3 separate regions of the Homo sapiens genome follow, and regions 2 and 3 are each linked to region 1. Evidence: promoter capture Hi-C in 16 types of primary human blood cells and fetal thymus (Javierre and others, 2016). All regions are on one chromosome and are shown on one strand. The core of a region is centred on a gene start or on the middle of the fragment in contact, and the rest is flanking DNA. Distances in the headings are between cores, read along the strand shown.

Region 1 (4,482 bases), core at 788-3,287:
CTTGTCCACCTCCACTCCCCAATTCAGAACCACAAGCAGAAAAATTCTTTTCCAAACTTATGTCAGATCACATTACTTCTCTGCTCATAATCCTGCAGTTATTCCCATTTCACTAAGTAAAAACCCAAATCTTGAAAACTGCTTATAAGGCTCTCTTCAATCTGGCCCTAAGTCAACTCTGACCTCATCGTCTACTATTTTTCCCTCACTTATTCTGCTCCAGACATACTGGATTCTTCTGCTGTTCCTTCCAAAGGTCAAGCATATTTCTGCCTTTTCCCTTACTCTTCCCTTTGCCTGGAATGGTCTTCCCTTAGATATCTGCATCCCACCACCTCCTTCAGGTCTGCTCAAGTGTCACCTTCTCTGTGACTTTTCCCCCGATCATACTTAAAATTGCAACCCCATCCCTACCCTTGTATTCTTTATCCCTTTACTCTGCTCTATTTTTTTCCACAATACTTATCACCACCTAAAATACTACATATTTTACTTTCTGCTTGAAGACATGACTTTCTGTCTTTCACTCACTGCTATATCCCTAGCATTTAAATCAGTGCCTGGCACATGCTAAGTGATCAAGAGTCTATCTGTTGAGCTATGCTTTTATTTCCACCAGGGGGCCTAACAATCATGTAGCCTGGTGTTTCAGGAAAAGATCATAAAGCATCTCTAAGATTTCTTTCAGTGCTCTGATCCCTAGAAGGACTACAACTTGCCTAGAAAGAAAAACTGTGCTTTGTCTCGGCAACCACAAGGAGGAGTTGAGAAAAAGAACCGAGCAGAGAAACCAGATAATGCTGTTTCCCTTGCTTTTCCCACAGTAACCTCAAGGTGGAAGAACACTGGATCTGGAGCCTGCTGTACTGAATGAATGATTTTTCTCCATACTATGAGTTACCTAGACACAAACGTAAACAGGAAACATCACAATCCTTCCGAATGCCACAAAAAGGCCAAGGGAATCCATATACAATGGCCACTAAGGACAGGAAAGGTGTTTCTTTAACTCCAGCACTAAGAATTCTCCACAAATTCAGGGGAGGAGCTCCAGTTAGCACAGAAAGACACATAACTCACTGATGAAGACCGAGTGTTTCAGGTCGTCAGTACTCTTTGGCCAGAGAAGTATTAAGTCAATTCTATTTAATACTTAGGGCACCTAAAATTCGTAAGCGGTATAAGCAAGACAGTCCCACGTCTAAATTCACAGATTTGGCGGATCGCATGGAATTCATTAACATCAGACTCATTAAACACCCAAATCCATTTCCCACGGGCTTGTGACTCACCGCCACCTGTTGATGCCCACATTGGAGGAGCCGGCGAACCAGGGGTCCAGGATGTAGACGCAGCGGATGGTGTCGGCGCCCTGAATGCACTCCTTCAGGGCGGGGTTGTCGTGGAGCCGGAGCCCCTTTCGGAACCAGTGCACGGCGTTCACCCCCATGCCGGGGGGCGCGGCGGGTCCTCCACGGAGAAATTCAAGGAAGGAGGCTCCGGCTCATAGCCGACACCTTCGCTTCCAAGAGAATTGCCTCACCCGGGGCGTGAGGAAAGGGCGGCAGAGGGGGAACAGGAAAAAATGACTCCGAGGAGGGGACCGGAGAAGGCGGGGGCGCCGGAGGCGCAGTGGAAAGATGAATGGAGGTTGCCTAGTCGGCGGAGTCCGGGTGTGACGCCCTTTAGGAGCCCGCGCCCGCCGCAACCGCCTGGAGGCGACGCATAACTTCGAGGGCCTCGGACCTCCGGAGCCTGAGCAAGTTCCAGGAGCTCGAGCCGCCACGACGGCCCGAGCCGGCACGGACGGCCCCAGGAGATTCGTCACGGAAACCTCGCCCCACCAAGGCGGCCCCTAAAGACAAAACGGCCCGCCCGAGGTGAGTCACCGAGGAGAACCGGAGGGGAATGAGCCCCTGTCGGCGACGCTGTCTCTCGGCCCGGGAGAAAGGACCGGGAACGGAGGCTAGAGGCGGTGGTCGAGGCCGCTGGACGGTTGCCGGCCGGTGACCGGTCCCGAGGCTGCCCGGGTGACTCTGCCGCCGCCGCCGCGTCAGCGGCCTCGGCCCCGCCCCCGGCTCCTCATTGGAGGGCGCGCTCCCCTCGTGACCACCGGCACCTCACGTTTCTGAAGTGTGTTTACTACACTGGCTCGGAGGGGTAATCTGCTCGCGCTTCGGTCGCTTTTGGAGGAGCGGCAGCCGCTTGATCCCAAACTTGTTGACCCTCGTCCACACGCTGAACTCACTGCCTCTGCCCCTTTCCTGTGCCGACTGGTGGCCGTCCCTTGGAAGCAAATCGCGTTGACCACAGGCCCCTTGTGAGGGAAGGCTTAGCCCCGCCCCCAAGGGCCATGAGCGGCCACCATTGGCCGAGGCTCGCTGAGACCCGGATGAGCACGGGGATGCGGGGAGCTTGCGGGCGCGCGCGCTGCTCCGTTAGGCGCGCGTGCGCTCTCGCTGCGTTCCAGAGGGTAAGGGGGCGGGGCCGGCGGGCAGGAGCGCGCTCGGCGATTCCTCCCGTGGGATTTGGGGAGGGCCTGGAAATTGTCCGGTTTCCTTCAGGAGCCAGTGGTGGAGTCGGGCGGAGAGTGAGGGGAGGATGGAGTGGAAGGAGGAGAGTGGGAGGCTCCACGTACATTTCAAGTCCAAACCATGTGCTTCAATCCTGCTTTGGCCAGAGAACCCTACTTTGGAGATTGTGGAGCTGTGCCCCTCCACTCTCCTGGCCCTTGGGTGCCTCCTCCCCCTTGTACATACTCTGGGGAAAAGGGTAATTGGCAGGACGGATGCCAGGCATTCCTGGACTTCCTGGAATTTTTTTAATACTAGCGATATATATCATCAACCTTTCACCCCTCGTCTCTTACATTTAATGTAGTTTACCGGTCTCTTTGAAACTGGACGTTTGTCTACTTTTCCAGCGACAGTGAACTGCAGGCCATGGCATCCCTTAGATATATGATGCCCTTAAATTCATTCAATGATTACTTTTTGAATGAACTAGGCACTGTTCAAAGCACTAGAGATACAGGAGATACTTAATAAAACAGACTAAAACCCCACCCCTCCTGGGGTTTACAATTTGTCTCTTAACCTTTGCTGTTTTTTCCTCTATAAAATACTCTTCTTTGGAATCCAGTACTCAATATTACCACCTTTGAGCTACCTAGGATATTTCTACGCATCCCTTTAGACTCAGATGAAATAATAACTAATTTCTGAAAGTATTCCTGATCCCTAGGGCAAATTTAGGACCTCCCTGGGTTCTCCAAGTATGTTTCTGTTACATCACTTTTCACACTACCGTGAAAATTAGTTGAAAAGTGCCCATTCCTAGCAATACCAACTCAGTAATAGTACTTATTATCATAATAATGTGCCTCTGATTCCCTCTGAAGTGTGATTTCTCAAGGACTGGGTCTGTATTCAGTTTTCTTTTGTTTTTATTTTTTGCATCAACACCAGAACAGAGCCTGACATAGGCAAATGCTTATTTAATGAATGAATGAGTGAGTGAGTGAGTGCTGTTGGCCACCAGTGTGTTTGGCAAAGTTAAAAGAAAGAAGGAGATGGCAATTCTTATTGGTTGAATTGTGTGTCCCCAAAATCATATAACTCTCAATGACTATAAATGTGGCCTTATTTGGAAATAAGGTCTTTGTACATGCTCAAGTTAAGATGAGGTCATTAGGGTGCACCCTAATCCAGTGTGATTGGTGGCCTCATATAGTGGAGAAATTTAGACACAGAAATACATATACATACAGGGAAAATACCATGTAAAGATTGGAACTGTGCTGCCACAAGCCAAGGAACTACTGGAAGCTAGGAGAAAGACCTGGAACAGATCCTTTCTTAGCACCTTCACAGGACTGTCGCACTGCTGACACCTTGATTTTGAACTTCTGGCCTCTAGAACTGCGAGACAGTTAGTTCCTATTGTTCTAAGCCTCCCAATTTGTGGTGCTTTTTTACAGCAGCCCTAGCAAACTAGTGCAGCAATAAAGTAAATTCAATACTCTAGAGAGCCAATCTGTCTGAATAGTCTTCCCTACTTCTGCTTCTGTTGCCACAAGAAGTATATATCAGCCTTTCTTTGGTTCTGTAAGAATACTTTTAAAATTATATATATGAATGATATGGTTTGGCTGTGTCCCCACACAAATCTCATCTTCAATTGTAGTTCCCATAATCCACACGTGTTGTAGGAGGGACCCGGTAGGAGGTAATTTAATCATGGGGGCAGTTACCTTCATGCTGTTCTCATGATAGTGAGTGAGTTCTCACAAGATCTGATGGTTTTATAGGGGGCTTTTCCCCCTTTTGCTTAGCACTTCTCCTTCCTGCCTCTATGTGAAGAAGGTTGTGTTGGCTTCCCCTTCTAGCATGATGATCAGTTTTCTGAGGCCTCCCCAGCCATGCTGAACAGTGAGTCAATTAAACTTCTTTCCTTTATAAATTACCCAGTCTTGAGTGTGTC
Region 2 (4,482 bases), core at 1,011-3,510, 490 kb after region 1:
ACTAGGACCTTCATGGTCTTCTCTCCATCTTCCCTAGTCTACACACTAGGTACTTCCTAAGGCCCCAGCAACTGGCTTTTCCAATAGAATCGAAGAATATTAGCATTGGGAAGAACTGAACAGGCTAATGGTAGCCACCTCTGACCTACCATCTGCATTTGTAAGTAAAGTTGTATTGGAACCCAGCCAAGCTCCTTCATTTGTGTATCATCTGTGGCTGTTCTCACTGCAATGTCAGAGTTGAGTAGTAGCAACAGAGACTGACCTTATGGCCCACAAAGCCTAACATACTTACTAGTTAGCCTTTTACAGAAAAGGTTTGCTGAGCCCTGAAATAGATCATCTGATGCAAACCCACCCCACTTTACAGGTGAAGACACTGAAGGCCAAAACGTTGATGGGCCAGAGGAGCCCTCCAGTGAGTTACGGGCAGATCCAGGGCTGGGATTCAGTTCTGCAAAATCCCAAACCAGGCCTTTCTCACATCCTGTAACATTCTTTCTAGTACCCAGACTCCCCAGCCAAACTCCTTTTCCATCCTGGGTGGTCAGCCTCATCACCAGCTCTCTCTTCACCATTTCAGAGAAAGGCCATGTCCGTGTATGTTCTCCATCTCCTACTTGAATCTGGGCTTAACAGCCTTCCTGAGCTGACATGCTGGCTTGACTCTGCAGGAAGCCCATCAAGGCTTTCTCTTTCCTTCCAGAGCCTCTAGTCGCACCCTATATACCTCTCCTAACACCACAGTGAAGATGTAGATGGCCACTGTCCTGTTTGAGTGGACCATCTCCCTCCTCTGCTCATCTCAGGCCACGTGGTTGGGGATTAACAAACCTGGCTTGCTGCAGAATTTCCAGGGGAGCTTATTTAAAATGCAGATGCCCAGGCCCTACCCCAAGACTTATGGGAGCCAAACTCTGGATGTAAAATCATGGCTGTTGCCATTTTAACAAGTTCTTCATGTGCTTCTGATGTTCAACAAAGTCTAAGAACCACTTCACTAAACCATGAGCTCCTCAAGCTTCTTTTGGGTTTTAGTCACTTCAAACAACTTCAGAATAAAGGAGACAACCAGTGGAACATTGTTCTCTTAAAAAAAAAAAGTATAAAGAGAATGCAAGATTTTTTCTTCAGCATTCTCCACCCTCTCCTTGACTCAGAGCCCTCGAATTCTTTCCCATCTCCAATTCCTCCAAAGAAAACATACAAATAATGCTATTTTTTCCCCTCTGAGTAGACAAGATAAGAAGATTTTTAAATGAGTTACTGGCAAAGAATTCATGAGCTTATATACTATTAAGGTCAGAGTGACAAGAAGAAGGCAATGTTGAAAGGAGAGAATAGGTACATAGAAAATTCCAGGAGAGGCTGGAATCCTGAGGTTCAAGGTGTCTTATTCTGGAGCTTGCCAGCTGTCTTGGTAAAGGTGTTATTTTTGAAGGCAGCAGAGCCTTTTTCTTTCTTCTTCTTTTTTTTTTTTTTTTTTTTTTTTTTTTTTTGCTATTCTTTGGCATTCACCAGGCATTGGCCGTGTGCCCTGGGCCTCGCTTGGCATCTAACATGAAAGGCAGCAGCCCAAGGGCAGTTCTGTGATGGAGATGCAGCCCCCCAGGGACTCAGGGTTGTGGACTGTGCTCTGGGGCCACTGAGCAAAGGAATGATGAGGGGAGGCGCCTCTGAAACTTAACCCAGAGAGTTCTCTGAGCATTTGGGGCTGGTTTCCAACAATAATGGAGACACTGTGACAAAAATAAGTTCTGCTCACCTGAGACAGTAGAATCCAATTCAATTTCAAGTCAGCGTGTGTTTATTGAGTGCCTGATTCAGTTTAGGTGATGGAGAGAATGGGAGAATGAGGGAGACAGCCTAAGAAGCAGGCTGATTCAGGCAGAAAATCCTTGGGACTCTGCCCCACAGATAGGTCCACAGGTCCAGAAACTCAATTTTATCAGTTTCACCCAGTAAGAAATTGGTAAATCTTAGTCTGTGTCATGAGCAAATATTTATTAAGTGCCTACAGTGTGCCAGGCACCATCCTGGAGCTGCGGCGGGAGCCGTGATCCAAGAAGTCCCCATTCCCTGCCCTGGTGGAGTTTACATTCTAATGGGGCATTTGCAGAGGCAGCGGGTAAGGCCAGAGGAGTCCTCTGGGGTGAGGCCCACAATGCGAGGGATTCAAGTGAGGTAAAGTCAGGAGGAACGTCTAGGGAGAAATGGGATTTAGCCTGTGGTTTGAAGGTTAAGAGGGATGTGGATTTTTAAAGGGCTTGAAGCCTTACAGACAGGAGGCTCAGCTGCATGAACAGGAATCAGCCCATTGCATGCCAGCAAGAGTCCATGACCTGATCAGCTCCCCTGGGGTGACAGGTGCATGCTGGGTAACAGAGTGCATGCTACGAAGTTGGACAAGAGAATGTCAATATCACATGGGGTTTCTCTACACATGCTATATAGTCAAGTAACTTGGGTCTGACTCCCAGCTCTTGCTAGTCTTGTGGTCCAGGGCATGATACCTAACCTGGATCAACATCATTCTCCTGATCAATGAAATGGGCATAATCATAACTAGCACAGAGGTTGGTCCTAGGCATTCAGATGAGACCATGAATCAATGTAAATGGCTGAGCTGCTGAATATTATTAACATTGGATAAATAGATCTGACTATAGGAAAACTGGCACCTGCCACCAAAAACTTTCTGGGAAGCTCATGACATCTGCATTTCTCAAGGGGGCTGGCTGACTTATAACCCCATCTACCTGTCATCCTCTTCTCAATGCCATGGTGGCCATGCTGGACTGAATGGCAGCCCCAGGGCCGGGGGAGGCAAGAGACATGCCAAGAACATATTTGCATGACCTAGCCTCCTTCAGTTTTGCACCCAGGGAACCCCACTGGCTTCATGCTAGTCTGACCCCTGCTGAATGGCAGGAAACCTTTTGCATCTACGTAGTGCATTTCTCAAAGTGTGGTACTTGGCCCACCTAAATCAGAATCCCAGGGGCTGCCTATCAGAATTATCTTCTTGGACTCTAACACAATCACCATCTCTGGATATAGAGCCAGATGATTCCCAGGCCCTCTCATGATGACTTTAGAGCAGAGGTTCTTTGAGAATGTCGTCCGCAGACCAGTAGCATCCGTATCAGGAACTGGTTAGGAATGCATTTCCTGGGTACCTCCCCTGATCTATGGAATCAGAAACTCTGGGAATGAGACCCAGCAGTCCGTATTTTAACAAACCCTCCAGATAATTCTGATGCACATTAAATTCACATGGGGAGGTTTTGAAAACTGCCTGTATCCAGCTGCACCCTATACCAATTAAATCAGAATCCCTGGGACAGGACTCAAGTGTCATTATTTTTTCCAAAATCTTCTCCAGTAATCCTAATGTGAGGACAGAGTTTATCATCACTGGAAGAAATAGGAAGATGGCACAAATGCGTTGCACTTAGAAAGTTGCCCTTCAGTTGTAGGCATTGTCTCAATGCGTGCAACAAGCTTGCAACAGCCTACCATGATCCCATTAGCAGGCAGGGAACTTGAGGCTCTCAGAGTTTCAGGGGTGTGACCAAGGTCCAAAGGGCCTCGAATTGTGGGCGCCACTGGGTGGCTGCCCAGCCAGCCTGGGTCTGGGGGAAGGCTGCCGGTTAACCTGGCTCTCTTTAGAGAGCCTTTTCTAGGTGCCAAAGCCTTTTGGCAGCATGTTGCCTGGGCAGAGCTGAAGCCTGAAAGAGCTCCAGAAAGACGACAGGGACGAGGCTGCAGATGGGAAGGGAGTGCTAGCGGACACCTTAGGCTTGGGTCCACAATCAGGGAGCCCCAAATAGAAATAACACGGGGCGCTGATTGGTTTTCCGCCGCTCCAGACCCTGCGCTTGGTGCTTCAAGTGACTCATCCTTATGTTCACATGATCGCCGAGAGGGATAATATTCCCAGATCAGTTACCTCCTAGCCTTTCCTAGTCACATTATCCCCAGGCTACAGATGAGGAAACTGAGGCCCAAGGATTCCAGAGAGCCTGCCCCGGGGTCACCGGTGCGGTCCGGATGTCTCCAAAGGCTCTCCCACTACTCTGGAATTCAGAGGCAGGGTCTCCAGGGAAAGCGGGGTGTGGGCTGGGGAGTCGGGAGATGGGGGGATCCCCGCGAGCAGGGGGTGGGGCCAAGCCGGCAGCCCCTGCCTCCGGGGAGGCCCTAACGCGCGTCTCCGGGTCCCTCCTCCCACCGCAGGCCCTTCCTCGTGCTGCCGCCGCTGATGGAGTGGATCCGGGTGGCCGTGGCGCACGCCGGCCACCGCCGCAGCTTCTCCATGGACAGCGACGACGTCCGCCAGGCGGCCCGGCTGCTGCTGCCCGGCGTGGACTGCGAGCCGCGCCAGCTCAGGTAGGCGCGGGGGCGGGCGGGGGGCGGCAGGGGAGGGAGGGCTCCGGCCTCGCAGCCTCCACCCCTCCAATCAGAGCCCCGCTGGGCGGCCTG
Region 3 (4,482 bases), core at 720-3,219, 310 kb after region 1:
AGAATTAAGCAGGGCATAAACTGCACAACCAAAACGGTGGCCGGGCCACTGTGAGTGCTGTTAATGGTTATGTTTATCACTTAGAGCAGTGTTACCTTGGCTCTTCAATTGAGTTCCCATATCCATTAAATAGCAACCTATCAGGGTCATGGTAAGGATCCAAGAGTCTGTCATTAAATGGTCAAATGGTCACTGTTTTTACTGACTTATATTCTACTTTAGATCAATACCCACATCTCCTTTCTATAGCTTCATCCTTACTGAAGGCACCACTCTCCGAGCAGTGGGGCAGGCAAGGGATCAGAGCTGGCACGGCTGTCCGGGGTTGTCCTGTCTGCCAAGCAATGGCAGGAGAGCTGCGAATGGCAGACACTTGGAAATCCTCAAGTCTGGGCTGGAGCCCTGGCAGCAGGCATCTGATCTGCCAGCTTATGCTGGGAAGAGAAGCCGGTCCCTGGGGGGGCTGTGCTGAAAACAGACACATGGCCTGGCATGGCCACCAGCCAAAGAAGTCTTCCTGCCCAGGATTGGTGCAATTGGCCTCTTCTCTTTCCTGTCCTCCTAGGGCCCATCGTCTGCATGAAAGAGGGATTGAGCCAGGCGATTGGAGACCTGAGTGGAGGTCCCCACTCTGCTCCTCACCAGCTCCATCTTGGGTATCATGCTTCTACTCTGTGTCCTCAGTTTTCCCATCTGTAAACGAAGGCATTGGACCAGATTACCTTGGAAAGCCTGTACTTTCTCCCCTCTAGTTTGTTTGAGGGGCAGCTTAGGGTTGTGGTTACGTGGGAGCTGAGTTGTACTCCTGGGTTCTAGTTCTGGCTTTGCCACTTCTCTTAGCTGGGGCATAAGTCACTTAACCTGCCTGGGTATCACTTTCCTCATCTGTAAAACAGGCTGGGCACACGGTTGTGATAGTACCTGTCCCATGGGGTTGTTGCAAAGATTATGGCTTCACATACGAAGTGCTTAGAACAGTGCCTGGCACCAGAAGCACCCCATAAATGGAGCTGGCTACTTCCTAGCCTGCTCCTTAAAGATGTCCCAGTCAGCCAGGTATGAAAGCATGCGCCTGTAGTCCCAGCTATTTGGGAGGCTGAGATGGGAGGATCGCTTGAGCCTAGGAGTTTGAGACTGTAGTGAGCTATGATCACACCACTATATTCCAGCCTGAGCCACAGAGTGAAACCCTGTCTCTCTTAAAACAAATAAAAACCAATGATGCTCTACTTTTTCTGCTTAAAGAGTTAGTCCCACCATCCCAGGACTCGGAGTCTGGTTGCTGTTGAGCCCAGGAACCTCACCATGCATGCTCCTCAAGTGAGCTCAGAGCATGAGATGGTCTCAACTAACCCATAGCCAATATTCACGGAGCATTTCTTCATTTACTCTTTCAGTCTATTTAAAGAGCACCTGCTCAGGTACTGTTGTAGGCTCTGGGGATAAGACAGTGACCAAAACAGGCAGAAATCCCTGTCTTTATGGAGCTTACAATCTAGCAGGGAGAAGCCAGACATTAAATAAATAAAACGCAAAATATAAACATGGATCTCCAGATGTTGCTTTGAAAAAAAACAAAGGAGATTTTCTGATTCTTACCATCCTTATCCCTGGTTGTGACTCACTGGTGTATAAAGCCTAAACTCCCCCAGCCTCAGCTCACACTGTGTTCCTCTAGGTGTCCCCTGAGCTTGGGCTCCGGAGCCAGAGAAGCCTGCGCTTTGAGTCCCGACTCTACCCCTGCAATTTGGCTGCTTTTGACCTTGGGGAAGCCACTTAATCTTTCCCTTCCTATTTCCTCATCTTTAAAATACCATTGCCCCCATCCCAGGACTGTCATGAGGATTCAGTGAGTTAATACACATAAAGCACTTACAACAGTGCTTGCCCCTGTATGACCTCGGGCAAGTCACTCTGAGCCTCAGTTTGCTCATCTGTAAAATGGGCATAAAATAGTCCCCAGCTCACCAGGGTTTGGCAGGCTTCAATGTAATAATGCATGTAAAATACCTGGCACAGTGCTTAGCACACAGTGGATGCTGTTTCTCCTCTCCTGTATTTTTGCTGCACGACAAATCACTCTGAAACTCAGTGACTAAAAGCAACAACTATTTATAATTGCTTACATATCTGTGGGTCAGGTGAGGCAGCTGAAATATTCCAGGCTCAGCTGGGCCACTGTATTTCAAGCTACAGATCCAAGAAGGCTTGGCCCCTTGCTGAGGTTTGGGCTCAGATCTGCTCCACGTGTGTCCAGCAGCTACCAGGGGACACGCTTCTCATGGCGCTGCAGAAGTGCAAGACGGTGAACAGGCAAGGCCTCGTCAGCCTTGAGCTGGGGCAGGTGCCTTCATTTCTGCCTCATTCTGTTGGTAATCAGAAAAGCAATCAAATGGTCAAACTCCAAGTCAAAGGATAGAGAAATAGTTCCCCTTTAGTGGAAAGAACTGCAAAGTCATATGGCAAGAGGCATGAGTGAAGCCAGGGCTGAAGAGTTGGGAACATTAATAGGATCTATTGGGCCTCCTGAGAACCCCCAGAAGATCATTGTAAGCAGCTGGTGATGGCGGCGACTCAGGGAGGTCCTGCGTATTTTCAGCTCTACCAGCTCTCCTAGGATTGCTGTTCCAGATTTCTCCCATCTATGCCTGGGGATATCGTATGGGATTTTCCTCCCAGGAACGTTGTACAGTGATGGAGGATGGGTGCAGGAAGGCTGGACTGCAAAGTCCTGGAATGCTTCCCCCCAACCCCCAACCTCCACGTCAAACCTGTCGTTGCAACGAAATAAATAAAACTGACAGCTGGAAAAATGAGGGGCAAGCAGACCAAATATGATAAACGGTCTCTTGCCGTGTATTGTATTCTCTACAATAAAACCCCAAGCAGATGCTAAAAATGTGTGCGGCTTTGTGAGGAGATAGGCGTGCTCTGTGTGGCCGAGATTTTCTGAGAAAGGTAATTTAACTGCAATGCACATAAAGGAGAGAAAGGCAGAGAAGTAATTTGGAAAGTGTACATCAAGTGCTTTTTAAAAAGTTGATATTGTTGGTTATTTTTCTTTTATTAAAATCCACAGCCCTGTGGGCTGCTGTCCCATCCTTATCGGGCTCATTCAAGACCAGCATTGACATTTCTAATTTGCAAATTTAAAGATTGTCAGGAAATGGTTTAAACACCCAGTATGATTGGGGAGCTTTTTGACTGTGGGTGACAAGAGTGGGCTCACCTCTGGGAAGACAGTAGGGGCAGGGGAGGAGAGCTGGGCTAGATTTAGGGAGAGTTAGGAATAGCTAACATTTATTAAGCACTTAGTATCAGATACTCTTCTAAGTGTTTTACACATATATTTTATTTTGTCTTACATAAATCTGTGATTTCCATTGTACAGATGAGTGTAATGAGGGTCTGGAAGCTCCTAAGCAGCAAAGCTAGCCTTGGAACCCGGCACTGGACTTCGGTATCTTGAGACCACCCCTGGCTTCCCTGCCTCGGGGAAAGAGCGTGAGGCTCAGAGTCAGGCAGTCTGGGGTTCAAATCCTAGCTCTGTCAGTTACTCTGGCCTCGGTGACTTTTTATTCATCCATCTGTTCAGCAAGTGTTAACTGAGATTGAACCTTGCACCAGATGCTGTGCTGGGTGCCAGGGGCACAGTGGTGAGCAAGACCCAGGATCCTGTTCTCATGGGCTTTTAGCCCACCCCTCCAAAAAGTACAGAGCTGCCAGAAAGGAACATAATGCCCTAAGGGCATATGACTAGGGAAACTGTGGGTCTTGGGAAGGCTTCCCCCAGAAAGGGACTTCTGAGTGGATCTTTAAAGGAAGAGTCAGCTAAGCTATATTTCTCCCTCTCCGTCCCCCTCACCTTCCCTCTCTTCTGTCTCTCTGTGTCTCTGTTTCTCTCCGTCTCTCTTTCTGGAAACTCTTACACCTGGACCCAGCTGTCATGCTGTGAGAGAGCCCAGGCCCCATGGAAGGGCCATGTGAAGATGTTGTGGCCAACAGCCCCAGTCAGAACCAGCTATGTAGTTTGCAGGCTCCAGTGCACAGTGAAAATATAGGGCCTCTCCTGTGGAGAAATAGGAACGCTTTTACACTGTTGGCAGGAATGTAAATTAGTTCAACCATTGTGGAAAACAATGTGGCTATTTCTCAAAGATCTAGAACGAGAAATACCAGCAGCCCCATTACTGGGTATATACCCAAAGGAATATAAAGATACATGCACCTGTATGTGCATTGCAGTACTGTTTACACTAGTGAATATATACACCATGGAATACTATGCAACCATAAAAAGGAATGAGATCATGTCCTTTGCAGCGACATGGATAGAGCTGGAAGCCATCCTCAGCAAACTAACACAGGAACAGAAAACCAAACACCGTATGTTCTCACTTATAAGTGGGAGCTGAACAATGAGAACACATGGACACAGGGAGAGGAACAACACACACTGGGGCTTGTCAGGGGTTTGCAGGG

Evidence for each region. Contacts are between HindIII fragments. The CHiCAGO score rates a contact against its expected background, and 5 or more counts as called.
Region 2: a fragment that was not itself captured here is called in contact with the fragment with the promoter of CRY1 in region 1 in 1 of 17 cell types (naive CD4 T cells); the score reaches 5.9 in naive CD4 T cells.
Region 3: a contact is called between a fragment that was not itself captured here and the fragment with the promoter of CRY1 in region 1, in 2 of 17 cell types (activated CD4 T cells and naive CD8 T cells). The highest score is 6.4, in activated CD4 T cells.

Annotation. Positions count from the first base shown.
Region 1 is chr12:107,091,512-107,095,993 of GRCh38, forward strand. CRY1 (cryptochrome circadian regulator 1) reads right to left here and starts at 2,038. Exons shown (of 13, transcript NM_004075.5): 1 at 1,293-2,038. The coding sequence starts at 1,450. RefSeq lists silencers at 1,870-2,099, 2,430-2,509 and an enhancer at 2,180-2,329. The HindIII fragment of the contact is 9,786 bases long and covers 1-4,482 here.
Region 2 is chr12:107,576,916-107,581,397 of GRCh38, forward strand. It overlaps ABTB3 (ankyrin repeat and BTB domain containing 3), which reads left to right. Exons shown (of 17, transcript NM_001018072.2): 4 at 4,237-4,389. Among named protein-coding and RNA genes, the nearest start is that of PWP1, 110 kb to the right of the region's middle. The HindIII fragment of the contact is 2,483 bases long and covers 1,020-3,502 here.
Region 3 is chr12:107,405,233-107,409,714 of GRCh38, forward strand. All of the region lies in intron 1 of ABTB3 (ankyrin repeat and BTB domain containing 3), which reads left to right. Among named protein-coding and RNA genes, the nearest start is that of ABTB3, 89 kb to the left of the region's middle. The HindIII fragment of the contact is 7,157 bases long and covers 1-4,482 here.